2 separate regions of the Homo sapiens genome follow, and region 1 is linked to region 2. Evidence: promoter capture Hi-C in human tissues and cell types (Jung and others, 2019). All regions are on one chromosome and are shown on one strand. The core of a region is centred on a gene start or on the middle of the fragment in contact, and the rest is flanking DNA. Distances in the headings are between cores, read along the strand shown. Region 1 holds the start of AKR7A3 (aldo-keto reductase family 7 member A3). Region 2 holds the start of CAPZB (capping actin protein of muscle Z-line subunit beta).

Region 1 (7,308 bases), core at 970-3,469, 200 kb before region 2:
CCGCCTGTAGTCCCCAGCTAGTCCGGAGTCTGAGGCAGGAGAATTGCTTGAACCCGGGAGGCGGAGGTTGCAGTGAGCCGAGATTGTGCCACAGCACAATGTCTCACAGAGTGAGACTTCTCAAAAAACAAACAAACAAACAAAACAAACAACAAAAAAAAAGAATCTTAGTTCCTAGTGAACTGGACTAACAGGTGAGTGGAGAGTCCTCTTCCCACTTTTCACACTTAGAAAGTCACCTAGGCTGGCAGGAGGGCAGTCACTGGAGCCCTTGAGGCCTAGCAAAGAGCAGGTTTGAGGAACTATTCATATGGAATTTTTCCATTCCACCACCACCCCTCTGCTTCTCAATTGAATTTAACTTCAGATCAGATCTGAGGACTTTCGCCAGCCAACCTTGGACTCAGACAGAAGACAAAGAAGGATTAAAAAAGGAAAGAAAAAAAAATCAGAAATAAGGGCCAGGCAGAGGGTACAGATCTGTGGTGGCTCACACCTGTAATCTCAGCACTTTGGGAGGCCAGAGCAGGAGGATCACTTGAGCTCAGGGGTTTAAGACCAGCCTGGGCAACAAAGTGAGACTCCAGTTTCAATGAATAATACAAAAAATTAGCCGGGTGTGGTGCTACTGTAGTAGTCCCAGCTACTCAGGAGACTGAGGTGGGAGGATGGCTTGAGCCCTGAGAGGTCAAAGCTGCAATGAGCCCTATCGCACCACTCCACTCCAGCCTGGGCAAAAAAGCAAGACCCTGTCTCAAAAAAAAAAAAAAAATCAGAAATATGGTTAGAGCTCTCACTGAGTGGCAGCCGGGTGATCTAGAAAGAGCGTGGCACTGGGATGCACGCACAGGCCAGGTTCGTTCTGGATCTACCATGTGGTGAATCAGAGGAGAAATAAGACTCCACTCAGACACTCAGTGGAAGGAGGCAAATGGTGCTAATACTAAGAACAAACAAACAGCTAACATTTCCCAGCCCTCACTATGTGCCTGCCAGGCATCGGCCTAAGCACTGCAAATGGCATCAGACTGAGGGCGGCTCCTCCTGCCCCTATACACACATCCTCCCCTCCGGCCACACCTGCCTCCTCCAGCACCCGCGGCATTGCCAAAACACATTTGCCTTTCCACACCCATGCCCACTGCCCTGACGCCCTTGCCCCTTGTACTCTTCCTGGCAAACTCCTATCCATTCTTTCTTCACGGGGTCCCTCCCAGGAAGGGGTCACTCTGGGCTCCCCAGCCATCTCTAGAACTGGAGCTTCCTGGAGTGGGTTAGTGTCCATTTCTCTCCAATAGCCTCCGACAGAGCCTCCCACAGAGAGGGCAGTGAGACTCTGTACCACCCCAATCCCTCATCCCCCTGAGGGAGCTGCCAAGGCTTCCGGGCACTGCCACCCTTGTGAGGTGCCCTTGTGAGTACCACAAGGTACTCAGAGCAAAGTCCGGGGCCCCGAGCAGGCTGGCATGTGCAAAGGAGGAAGCAGATAGTGTGCTGGGTCCAAACTCTGATTTTGGACTGTGCCAGGGAGTGCCAGGCGGTAAGAACAGAATTTCTGCAGATCAGGCCCGTCAAGGGCACCTGGAGGGCACAGGTGGGGACAGGAGCTGCACAATGCCAGATCCCAGTGTTTTTTGTGCTCCAGAGAGGGGCTAGCCAAGTCATTCCAGGCAAGACCAAGTCATCCAGGCGTCAGTGAGGGTGCTGGCTACCTCCCGGAAGAGAAGAGAGACGAACAGAAGAGAAGACGAGAGAAAAGTTGTCCGGAGCTAGACGTGCCTAAGGAGCCTGGTGTTCCCAAGGCTGCGAGGTGAACAGGGGTGGGGGCGGTGGGGGGGACAAAACTTTGGGTGCTGCCCCGGGGCCAGGGAGAGCGGGGCGGTACACGGCTGTGGACAGGCTCAGCTCTGCACCGTGCAGGGGGAGGATCAGGGGCCACTGTTACCTCTGCAGTCGCTGCCGCCCAGCCGGAGCCCCAGGCCGCCAAGGATGGTCTCGGACTGGCCCTCGCTGTACACGAAGGCCGTGTCTATCTCGGTGTGGCCGCGCTCCAGGAAGGCGCGCGTGACTGCGGCGCTGGTGGGCGCGTCCATGCGGCGCCCCATCTCCATGGCGCCCAGCACCGTGGCTGGCCGGGCCCGCGACAGCTGCCGGGACATGACGGCGGCAACGGGAGACTGTGACAGCCCAGGAGCCGCGCGCAGCGGTCGGAAGCACCAGGCTCGGAGCGGGCGGCCTCGTGGCTTTAGAGACGGGCTCGGGCCCCGCCCACCGGCGGGTGCAGCTGAGGGCGCGGCCGAAGGTGCCCGACGCCGCCCACGAGCTCGACTCCACGCTCGGCTACTAGGACCTTCTGCACTTGCACCGAGCAAGCAGCGAAATGGCTGTGGCTTCGTACCGGTGACTCGCGTCTTGGAGATTTTAACACTCCTCAACGTCCCCAAGGGTGAGGGGGTCCAAGGGTGGCGACTATCCCAAAAGGCGGGGACTCTTCGGGCCTCCCTGCCCCGTCGTCCCTCCTTCCTCGGCCTTGCCCCGGAGCTGTCCTGGGTTTCTGTCTCCTCCCGGAGGGAGCGCTTACGGGGTGGGGTGGACCTAGGGCTGTCGCGCCTGCCGTGTGGTCCTGGAGAATGAGGCTTACCAAAGGCTCAAGACAGCGTCCCCATGGAGTGACATGGTTAAAGTGTTGAAAGAAAAGAACTGTTGGCATTGAATTCTGTACCTAAGTGAAAAAAAACTGACTGGCTCTGGTGACTTAACGCCTGTAATGCCAACACTTTGAGAGATCAAGGCAGGAGGATCACTTGAGCCCAGGAGTTTGAACCCAGCCTGGGCAACATAGGGAGGCCCTGTCTCAAAAGAAAAAAAAAAAGATAGAAAAATGGACCAGTGCCCAGCGGCAGTGAGCTGTGATAGCTCTACTGCACTCCACCCTGGGTGACAGAGGGCAAATCTGTCTCCAAATACAAAAGAAAAAAAAAGACCAATAGACAGATGGAACAAATGAAAAACCAATAGCAAAATTGATTTAAACCCAATCATATCAATAATTACATAAATATAAATGATGTAAATGCTCACAAGTAAAAGGCAGTGATTGTTAGAATGGATAAAAAAGCAAAACCAAACTATATGGTAAATACCAGAAAGCTATTCAAATATAAAAGCAGAGATAGTTTAAGAGCAAAAAGATGGGAAAAGACATACACTGACAAAACTAAATTTTAAGAAGTTGGAATGGCTAAGTGAATATCAGACAAAGTAGATTGCAAAACAAAGAATACTGGCCCACACAGTGGGTGACATACTAGCCCACACCTGTAATGTTAGCACTTTGGGAGCCTGAGAAGGGAGGATTGCTTAAGTCCAGGAGTTTGAGACTAGCCTGGGCAACACAGGGAGATCTTATCGCTACAACAAAATTTTAAAAATTATCAAATTGTGGTAGCATGCACCTGTGGTCCCAGTTACTTGGGAGGCAGAGGTGGGAGAATCATCTACGCCTGGGAGGTCGAAGCTGCAGATTGAGACCCTGTCTCAAAACAGCAACAACAACAACAACTACCAAAGACAAAGAGGGACATACCATAATGACAAAGAGGTCAATTAATAAAGAAGATATAATTCTAAATATATATGCACCTAAGCATAGATCATCAAAATACATGAAAAACAATAATGGAACTAAAGAACAAGTAGATAAATACAAAATTATAATTGGAGATTTCAACACACCATTCTCAATAGTTGTAGAACAGTTATCAGTCATAATTTACGGAAACTCCGTAAAGGTATACAAGACTCAATGCTATGAACCAATTCCACATAAACAACATGAATAGAATATCCAACAACAGCAGGATATGCATTCTTTTCAAGTGCCCATCCACCAAGATATACCATATTTGGAGGCATAAAACAAGTCTTAATAAATGTAAAAGAGGCTGGGAGCGGTGGTTCACGCCTGTAATCCCAGCACTTTGGGAGGCCAAGGCATGTGGATTAACTGAGGTCAGGAGTTTGAGACCAGCCTGGCCAACACAGTGAAACCCCGTCTCCACTAAAAATACAAAAATTAGCTAGGCGTGGTGGCGTGCCCCTGTAATCTCAGCTACTCAGGAGGCTGAGGCAGGAGAATCACTTAAACCTGGTTGGTGGAGAGTGCAGTAAGCCGAGATCAGGCCATTGCACTCTAGCTTGGGCAACAGAGTGAGACTCCATATTAAAAATAAATAAATAAATAAATAAATAAATTTGAAAGGATTCCAATCATACAAAGTACATCTCTGAACACGATGGAATTAAACTAGAAAATAATAACACAGGCTGGGTGCGGTGGCTCACACCTTTAATCCCAGCACTTTGGGAGGCCAAGGTGGGCAGATCACTTGAGGTCAGAAGTTCAAGACCAGCCTGTCCAATATGGTGAAACCCCATCTCTACTAAAAATACAAAAAAATTAGCCGAGCATTGTGGTGTGTGCCTGTAATCCCAGCTACTCAGGAGGCTGAGGCAGGAGAATTGCTTAAACCTGGGAGGCGGAGGTTGCAGTGAGCCAAGATCGCACCACTGCACTCCAGCCTGGGTGACAGAGAAAGACTCTACCTCAAAAAAAAAAAAAAAAGAAAGAAAGAAAAAAAGAAAAGAAAAGAAAAGAATAACAGAATTTAGAGCCTGAGAGGGAACTGAAAATAAGTAAATAAGTTAACAAATAGAAGAAAAAGGAAAAATAGAAAATAATAATGGAATGATATCTGGAAAATCCCCACATATTTAGAAATTAAATAACCCATGGGTCAAATATGTAATCACAAGGAAAATTAGATCATATTTTGAACTGAATGAAAGTAAAAACAGGACATATCAAATTTTCTGAGATGCAGCCACAGTAGTGCTATGAGGGAAATTTATAGCACCACTTTGACATATTACAAAAGAAGAAATATTTCAGATCAATAATGTAAGCATTTACTTTTTTTTTTTTTTTTTTTTGAGACACAGTCTCACTCTGTCACACAGGCTGGAGAGCAGTGGTGCAATCTCAGCTCCCTGCAACCTCAGCCTCCTGGGTTCAATCAATTCTCATGTCCCAGTTTCCTGAGTAGTTGGAATTACAGGCATGCACCACCATGCCCGGCTAATTTTTGTATTTTTAGTAGAGAAGGGGTCTCACCATGTTTGCCAGGCTGGTCTTGAACTCCTGGCTTCAAGGGATCCTCTCGCCTCAGCCTCCCAAAGTGCTGGGATTACAGGTGTGAGCCACTGCACCGGCCGAGGCTTGTACTTTAAGAAACCACAAAAGGAAGAGTCAAGTAAAACCAAAATTAGCAGAAGAAAGGAAATAATAAAAATAATAGCCAAAATAGGCTGATGTGGGAGAATCGTTTGAACCCGGGAGGCAGAAGCTGCAGTGAGCCAAGATCACTCCTCTGCACGCCAGCCTGGGAAACAGAGCAAGACTCCATCTCAAAGAAAAAAAAAAGCCAAAATAAATGAAATATAAAACAAAAACATCAGCAAAAGTCAGTAAAACCAGAAGTAGTTCTATAAACACATCGCTAAAGTTGATAAACCTCTGGCTAGACTGATCAGGAATAAAAGAGAGAATACACAGATTAACCACACCAGAAAGAGCAGAAGAGACACCACTACAAATTATACAAATTTATCATTTTAAGTGATATTTAAATGTCATTAAATGACATTAAATGACATTTTAAATGACAATAGGGTAGATTATTAAAACCTTTATGTGAATACATTTAGTAAGTTAGATGAAATGGACAATTTCCTTGAAAAACACAAACTACCAAAGTTTATGTTTGGAAAATGAGTAAGGAATGTGTTTGGAAAATGAGTAAGGAAAAATGAGACAGCCGGGCGCAGTGGCTCATGCCTGTAATCCCAGCACTTTGGGAGGCCGAGGCAGGCAGATCACTTGAGGTCAGGAATTGGAGACCAGCCTGGTCAACATGCTGAGACCCCATCTCCACTAAAAATCCAAAAATTAGCTGGGTGTGGTGGTGTGTGCCTATAATCAGTTACTTGGAAGGCTGAGGCAAGGAGAAACGTTTGAACCCAGGAGGCAGAGGTTCCAGTGAGCCAAGATCATACCACTGCACTCCAGCCTGGGCGACAGAGCCAGGCCCCGTCTAAAAAAATAAAAAAAACAACAACCTGAATTTTTTTTTTTTCTTAAGACAGGGTCTTGCTTTGTCTTCTGAGTTCAATGGTGCAATCATAGCTCACTGCAGCCTCAACGTCCTGGGCTCAAGCGATCCTTCTGCCCAAGCCTCCCAAGTAGCTGGGACTACAGGTGCACCTCAATACACCTGGCTAATTTTGTAAAAATATTTTTGTAGAGACAGGGTCTCGCTATATTGCTCAGGCTGGTTTCAAACTCCTGGGTTCAAGTATTCTTCCTGCCTCACCCTCCCAAAGTGCTGGAATTACAAGTGTGAGCCATCTCGTCTAGCCCAGATATTGAATTCTTGATAAAAAAAAATATTTCCACAAAGAAAACTCCAGGTCTACATGGCTTCATTGGACACTTAAGGAAGAAACAACATCAATTCTGGACAAATGTTTCTAGTATATAGAAGAGGAGAGGTCACTTACCAACTCATCTTGAAGCTAGCATTACCAGATACCAAATGACACAAAGATGTTACAAGAAAAGAAACTACACACATATCCTTCATGGATCTAGACACAAAATCCTCTTTATTTTTTTCAAAAATCCTTTTAAAATTTAGCAAAATGAATACAGTAGTAAATACAAACAATAATGCACCATGACCAAGTTAGTTTCATCCCAGGAATACAAGGTTGGCTTAATATTTTAAAATCAATCAATATAATTTACTATACTAACAGGCTATAAGACAAAACCCATATCACCATCTCAATAGATGCAGAAAAAGCATTTGACAAAATTTAATACCTATTCATGAAAGGAAAATAAACCTCTCAGCCAATTAGGAATAGAAGGGAATTCCTGAAACTGATAAAGGGCATCCATAGGCCAGGAGCAGTAGCTCATGCCTATAATCCCAGACTTTGGGAGGACAAGATGGGCGGATTGCTTGAGCCTAGGAGTTCAAGACCAGTGTGGGCAACATAGCAAGACCCTTCTCTACAAAAAATAAAATAATTTTTAAAGGGCATACACAAAACACCTACAGCTAATATACTTAATGATGAAATCAGAAAGTTTTGCCCTAAGATTGGGAACCAATGATGTCCACTCTTATTCAACATTGTATTGAAGATACCAGTTATTTCAATATATTTCTTTGTTGTTGTTGT
Region 2 (7,052 bases), core at 1,466-3,965:
CCACCACTTCTGTCCTACGCCAACCATCTACACCGGCTTAATGGTCAGAGTATTCAAATAGGGGATAAACGTAACAATAAGCAGTCAGAAATTACAAGGCTAAGGGATACTAAGAACAAGTGACTGAGAGAATGAATATGAAATCCAAGCAGGTAAGTTCATGGACACAGACACATGCCAAAGAGAACATTCCAAGTGGTTTCTTCCAACGCCAGGTGCTGTTCTAGGCCCCACGGATACAGCTGCGGAAAACACAAGACACAAATCTCTGCCCTCCAAGAGCTCATTCTGGCCCATGCTAAATATGCCTGTATCACCATACAGCTATTTCACTATAAACATGATTTCCTATACAAAGGATCTAAAATACAATACATGGGCAATAAATACTGCTCCTCCCCCCTTGCCATGTTTGAATATCCCATTTTATGTTTTTCAAACGGTATCATTAAACCTTCTGACATACAAGCAGCTTGGTACAATGGGAAGAACAGTTTAGAGCCTGCCAGATGGGCTTCCACTGACCAACAGTGGTTCCTCCACTGGCTGAGCAACACCCTGAATAAGTCACTCCACCTCCTGAGCCTCAGCTGCCTCATCTATAAAATGGGGACAGCCCCAGAAGGGCTTCCTGTGGATGAAAACAGCTTGTACAGGTGAAGCACACCACAGTGACTGGCAGACAGTTCCTCCACCCTTTCCAGCCTTTTCAGATGAGAGCTGAGTACAAGACTCCTGAGAAGCTTCAGGTGTCATGTGCTCCTCCTGGGGGACTGAGGCACTTTCCCATCACCTGGCGAGAATCGCTGCTTCCTGCCTTATACTTTGTCCTGAGTGCACACTCAGGAAACTTCAGCCCACTTTCAAAGTCCTCACCCACCACTGCCCTGGAGAAGTCGTTCTCCATCAAGGCCTGGGGCCAGGCCCACCTCCCCAAACAAGGAGTTTTCAGCCAAAGTTACTGGACAAATCCGAAGGCCTTAAAAGTGGCATTGCCCATGTTTTTAATCAGCATACAGGAAGGCATCAAAAGAAAGCTTAACCCATCTCAACTACTCACCCTCGTTCAGCAGCAACATCCCTTGACTAAACAAGGAACCATGGTCCTCAAAACACTTTGAGGCCCAAAGTCCACATACAAACATGCTCCAAAAATCCCTTGATCCTGTCAGGAAGAAGTTCTCTGGCCCTTCCAACCTAAGTGCTGGGCCTGTCCTGCAGAAGGGTCAAGTGGCAGGAGGGCAGGTCTATCTGTGGGGGCCTATGTGAAACCCCAGGTTCCTCAAAAGTCTGGATAGCATCTGCCTTCTTTACCAAAACAAACACCACGAGCGGAGCCAGCACTCTCCCTAGGCGTTCTGCTCACCTGATCCGAGGGACTTCCATAATCAGCAGTTCCAACCCTTGCAAGCTGACAGTTCAGAGGGAAGGGGAGGCTGCGCCTGCTTGGGTGCATCGTGTCCAGGCCATATGCTGGATCCAGGGCCTGGTGGCCCCCCAAGGCCACGGCCTCACAAGGGCGATTGTGCGTTCATCCTTGTCCTGTGGGCCACCCATCCTCGCCCCTCGGCTCCCACTCAGGCCCGGGCGCCGTGGACCCCGGCCTGCCCTGCAGAATGCTTCGCACGCACAGCACCCACGGCGGCAGCCTCGAGAAGGGCCCGCAGAGCAGCGCGCTGCCTTCTGGGCACACCGATGCCCGCCCTTCCCTCGCTGGCTCCTAGGCGGCCTCCCTAGAAGCGGCAACTGAGAAGGCACAGCACCGGGACCACCCCATCCCTGATGGAGAGCTCCCCTCGCTCCCCAAAGGCTGCAAAGAAGGCGCGCCCCAGGTACAGGGAAGGGGACCCTGGGTCGTGCACCAGGCAGGGGGCAGGACCCTGATGAGAGGCTCAGGGCGGGGACCGAGCGGGGCTGACGCAGGTTACGCTAGGAGTGGCGAAAAGTCCAGGGAAGGGGATCATGGTGGGGAGGGGGCAGTGAGGTCCAGACGGGGGCCATGGGCGGAGAAGAGGAGGTCCAGATTTAAGTTCACAGAGAGAAGAGGAGATTCAGGCTGAGGCCACGGAGAAGAGGGGAAGCAAACCTAGGCCGCTGCAGAAGGGGCTGACCGGGGTCCAGCCTGAGGCCATGGAGAAGGCAAAGGGGGAGGGACAGAGGGAGGCAGCGGCCTAGCCTGGGCCATGGCAGGGAGAAACGACGGCCTAGCCTGGGCCGGAGAGACGGGGGAAAGCAGACCTAGCCCTAGACCGGGGGAGGAAGGGGGCCCACGCCAGGGTCACCGAGGGGGTGCCTGGCTGGGGACACGGTTCGGGAGGGAGGGTCTAGCCTGGGCTATGGGAGAGACCAGCCTGAACACAGAGGTAGTGAGTGGGACTCCAGCTTGCGCCAAGGGCGGGGGCTGGGAGCGGGGGCAGGGTCACTGCCACCCAAGTCGTCCGCGCCGGCGGCACCCTCCTGGGCGGGGAGGGACCGGGTCCACCCAGGGTCCGGGACCCCGCCCCTCCCCCACCCCGGGAAGCCACCCGTCCCAGGCCAGGGATGGGCAGGGGGAGGGGGACGCGAGCTCCGGAGGGGCCCCCGGGCCGGGGAGGGGGCCGTGCGGCCTTTACCATGGTGGCGGCGGCGGCGGCGGTCCCGGTCCCGGCGTCAGTGGCTCTCCCCCCCGCAGCAGGGCCCGGCGCTTCCACTTCCCCGGGTGCCCAGGAGTGAACATCCGGGTCAGCACCCCCCTCCCCCCGCGCCGGGCCGCCGCCACCTTCCTTCCCCGCCCCGGCCCGGCCCGGGCCCGCCCCCCACGCCGCCAGCTCGCGGCCAATGAGCGCGCGGGGCTGCGGCGATCGCCAAGTATGGAGAGCGGCGCGAGAGGCGGGCGCCGACGGGGTGCGGGGGCGGGGCCTGCGAGGCGGGGCGGGGCGCGGCGCTGCGCGGCGCGGCTGCCGGGAGTCCCCGGCACGGGTTGCGGGCCGGGGCGGAAAGGTCTCCTGGCTGTCTGAGGTCCAGTCCCCGACTCTGGGCCTGCAGCAGCGAGTGGCGGCGAGGGAACCGCACCCCACAGTCCCCGCGGGCGGGGATGCGGAAGGCACCGCGGCTGGGAGGGGACCGGCCCTCCGCGCCCCACCCCGTGCACGCGCTCACTCCTGCGGCGCACCCGGAACTGCCGCCGAGCGCGGACCGGCCCGGCCCAGCCCAACCCAGCCCAACCCAGCACTGGGGGAGCGCGCCGGGAGCGGGGCAGGAGCCCAGCGCTGCCGCTCGCTACGGCAGGATCTGGAGCGCCGCGCTGCACCTGAGCCCGGGCACGAATTGAGGAGCCTCGGGCTGACGCCATTTATTCAGCACCTACTATGTGCCAGGCCTTGTTTAGGCACCGGAAGATAACAGATAAGACATAAAGATCCCTGCCGGTATAGCTGCAGACAGAATATCTGTGAGGATGACACAGGTAGAGATTAGAAAATTAAGTTCAACAGGTCGGCCGCGGTGGCTCACGCCTGTAATCCCAGCACTTTGGAAGGCCGAGGCGGGCCAAGGTCAAGAGATCGAGACCATCCTGGCCAACATGGTGAAACCCCGTTTCTACTAAAAATACAAAAATTAGCTGGGCGTGGTGGTTCGCTCCTATAGTCCCAGCTACTCGGGAGGCTGAGGCAGGAGAATCGTTTGAACCCGGGGGCAGAGGTTGCAGTGAGCCAAGATCGCGCCACTGCACCCCAGCCTGGCGACAGAGCAAGACTCTGTCTCAAAAGAAAAAAAATTAAGTTCAACAAATGCTAGCTGTTATGAGTACTGTTGAATGTGCTACAGAGAACCATTCCATTAGCCCAGAAGGGCTTCCTCGCTCCACAAAGTGACTCAAGTTTCTCTCTCCCAATCTCTCTCTCTCTCTCTCAATCAAATATTTGTTAAGCTTAGTCTAGGTAGCAGGAGAGATCTGGATTGCTAACAATATCTGCCTCCGTGGCCTGTTTGCTTTGGTTAAATCAAATTAGGCGATCTGTGAGGGGATGGTAAACTGCACAGATGACAGGAATTGTTTCCCTGAGCCAGGCCCTGTCCTCAGGGAGCTCATAGACAAGTCGAAGCTTTCACAGGTAGCCACTGGCAGAAAAAGCATACGGGTAAGTCTCGCAAGAATGGTATTGGATGAGTATTACAGAAATTCAAGGAAGAGAATGGCACACGCAGTAGATACTTATTGAGCATCTGCTATGTGCCAAGCACTGTGCTAGGCTCTGGAAATAGAGCAATGAGCAAAATAACCCACATGGTTGTGGAGCTTGAGTGTTGTCAGGGAGACAGTCGGCCACCAGGCAAATACAGTGTCCAAGGCCAGGCACAGTGGCTCACGCCTGTAATCTCAGCACTTTGGGAGGCCGAGGTGGGCAATCGCTTGAAGTCAGGAGTTCCAGATCAGCCTGGCTAACATGGCGAAACCCCGTCTACTAAAAATACACAAAGTTAGCCGAGGCCGGGCGCAGTGGCTCACGCCTGTAATCCTAGCACTTTGGGAGGCCGAGGTGGGCGGATCACGGGGTCAGGAGATCGAGACCATCTTGGCTAACACGGTGAAACTCCGTCTCTACTAAAAATAAAAAAATTAGCTGGGCGGGATGACGGGCGCCTGTAGTCCCAGCTACTCGGGAGGCTGAGGCAGGAGAATGGCGTGAACCCGGGAGGCGGAGCTTGCAGTGAGCCGAGATCGCGCCACTGCACTCCAGCCTGGGCGACAGAGAGAGACTTCGTCTCAAAAATAAAATAGTAATAATAATAATACAGTGTCGGGTAGTGATTAGAGATAATGAGAAAAATTCAAGCAAACAGGTAGGCAGGCAAGGCCTAACTTAGCAATATTTGATCATATAGCTGAAGGGAAGGAGGGAGCAAGCCGTGTGGATAGCAGAGGCACAAGGAGCAGCAAGGGTAAAAACCCTGAAGGTGACAGTGCTGCATCAGCACTGGTGTGTTTTCAAGGGCCAGACAGGAGGCCAGTGTGGCTAGCCTAGGTCGAGCAGGAGCTGAAGGACAGGGCAATGACAAGATTTGACCTAGGCTTTAAAAGGATCATGAGGCTGCTGTGTTCTGAATGGACTGTAGGGGGACTAGGGCCTTAGAAAGCCATTTCTATATTGAGGACATTTATTTATTTAAAAAGCACTGATATGGCACATCCTATGTGATGAACACTGTTAAGCACCTTACAGATAATAAGCCATTTAATCCTCATGACAGAAGCCTGAAAAGGTAAGGAGCTTGCCCAAGGTCACACAGCAGAGAGATGAAGCTGGCTTAGACCAGGGTAGTAGCATTGGAGATGGCAAGAAGTAGATAGTATTCTAGGTATTTCCTGATGTATTGGTGGTAGGCATGAGAAGAAAGGAATCAAGGATGATGCTAAGATTTTTTTTTTCATATTTAAAGACTTTGTCTTCTGTTGTTTTTTGTTTTGAGACAGTGTCTCAGTTCTGTTGCCCAGACTGGAGTGCAGTGGCGCAATCATAGCTCACTGCAGCCTCAACACCCCCGGACTCAAGTGATCCTCCCACCTCAGCCCCTCCCCACCCCCGCCCTGAGTAGCTGGGACTACAGGCGTGCATCACCGTGCCAGGCTAATTTTTTTGTAGAGACTGAGTCGCACTGTATTACCCAGGCTGGTCTCGAACTCCTGGGCTTAAGCAATCCTCCCACCTCAGCCTCCTAAAGTGCTGGGATTACAGGCATGAGCCACTGCACCCGGCCAAGACTTTGTTTTTTAGAGCAGTTTTAGTTTCACAAGAAAATTGAGAGGAAGGTACAGAGACAATCCATATATACCCCCCTGCCCCACATATGCAGAGCCTCCCTGAATTGTCCCCATTCCCCACTAGTGTGGTACATCTGTTGCAAATAACCTGCATTCATACATCGTGATCACCCAATAGTTTACATTAGGGTTCACTTATACAATCTATGGGCTTGGAGAAGTGGATAATTACATCTAGCCACCGTTAGAACCATCATACGGAATATTTTCACTGCCCTAAAAATCCCCCGTGTTCCACCTCTTCATCCCCTTTCCCCCAGCTCCTGGCAACCACTGATCTTTTTACTCCATAGTTTTGCCTGATGCTAAGGTTTTTGGCTTAACACTGGAAGGATTTACCATTTATTGATCTGGGGAAGACTGTAGGAGGAGCAGGGTTTTTCTGAGGAGAGGGTTGTGGATAAGAGGGAGCAAGTTATGTTTGAGATGCCTATTGGAGATTTTTTTGTTTTTGTTTTTGAGATGGAGTCTCACTCTGTCGCCCAGGCTGGAGTGCAGTGGTGCGATCTCGGCTCACTGCAGCCTCCGTCTCCTGGATTCAAGCAATTCTCCCACCTCAGCCTCCCAAGGAGCTGGGACTGCAGGCGTGCGCCACCACGCCTGGCTGATTTTTGAATTTTTAGCAGAGACAGGATTTCACCATGTTGGCCAGGCTGGTCTTGAACTCCTGACCTCAAATGATCTGCCCGCCTTGGCCTCCCAAAGTTCTAGGATTACAGATGTGAGCCACCATGCCTGGCCTCCTACTGGAGATTTTTTATTTTATTTTATTTTTTTTGAGACGGAGTCTGGCTGTGTCGCCCAGGCTGGAGTGCAGTGGCACAATCTCGGCTCACTGCAAGCTCCGCCTCCCGGGTTCACGCCATTCTCCTGCCTCAGCCTCCCGAGTAGCTGGGACTACAGGTGCCCGCCACTACACCTGGCTAATTTTTTTTTGTATTTTTAGTAGAGATGGGGTTTCACCATGTTAGCCAAGATGGTCTTGATCTCCTGACCTCATGATCCGCCCACCTCGGCCTCCCAAAGTGCTGGGATTACAGGCGTGAGCCACCGCGCCAGGCCCCTCCTACTGGAGATTTAAATGGAGATGTCAGGTGGGCGTGGTGGCTCACACCTGTAATTCTAGCACTTTGGGGAGACAAGTGGATCACCTGAGGTCAGGAGTTCAAAACCAGCCTGGCCAACATGGTGAAACCCTGTCTCTACTAAAAATACCAAAATTAGGTGGGCATGGTGGCACATGCCTGTA

The links. The method cuts DNA at HindIII sites, captures the fragments that hold promoters and counts their contacts. A contact is called where the count stands out against the background at its distance.
Region 1: a contact is called between the fragment with the promoter of AKR7A3 here and the fragment with the promoter of CAPZB in region 2, in 1 of the 25 tissues and cell types used here (ovary).

What each region holds. Positions count from the first base shown.
Region 1 is chr1:19,286,551-19,293,858 of GRCh38, forward strand. AKR7A3 (aldo-keto reductase family 7 member A3) reads right to left here and starts at 2,220. Exons shown (of 7, transcript NM_012067.3): 1 at 1,946-2,220. The coding sequence starts at 2,159. It overlaps LOC124903867 (a long non-coding RNA gene), which reads left to right and starts at 1,510. Exons shown (of 3, transcript XR_007065521.1): 1 at 1,510-1,810. LOC100506730 (a long non-coding RNA gene) reads right to left here. Exons shown (of 1, transcript NR_037847.1): 1 at 6,697-7,308. RefSeq lists enhancers at 1,453-2,275, 2,276-3,097. The HindIII fragment of the contact is 16,987 bases long and covers 1-7,308 here.
Region 2 is chr1:19,482,824-19,489,875 of GRCh38, forward strand. It overlaps CAPZB (capping actin protein of muscle Z-line subunit beta), which reads right to left and starts at 2,716. Exons shown (of 9, transcript NM_004930.5): 1 at 2,613-2,716. The coding sequence starts at 2,615. It also overlaps a transcript of LOC105376819 not described here. RefSeq lists enhancers at 993-1,501, 1,502-2,009, 2,010-2,518, 4,552-5,059 and silencers at 2,423-2,532, 2,563-3,292. The HindIII fragment of the contact is 6,884 bases long and covers 1-6,773 here.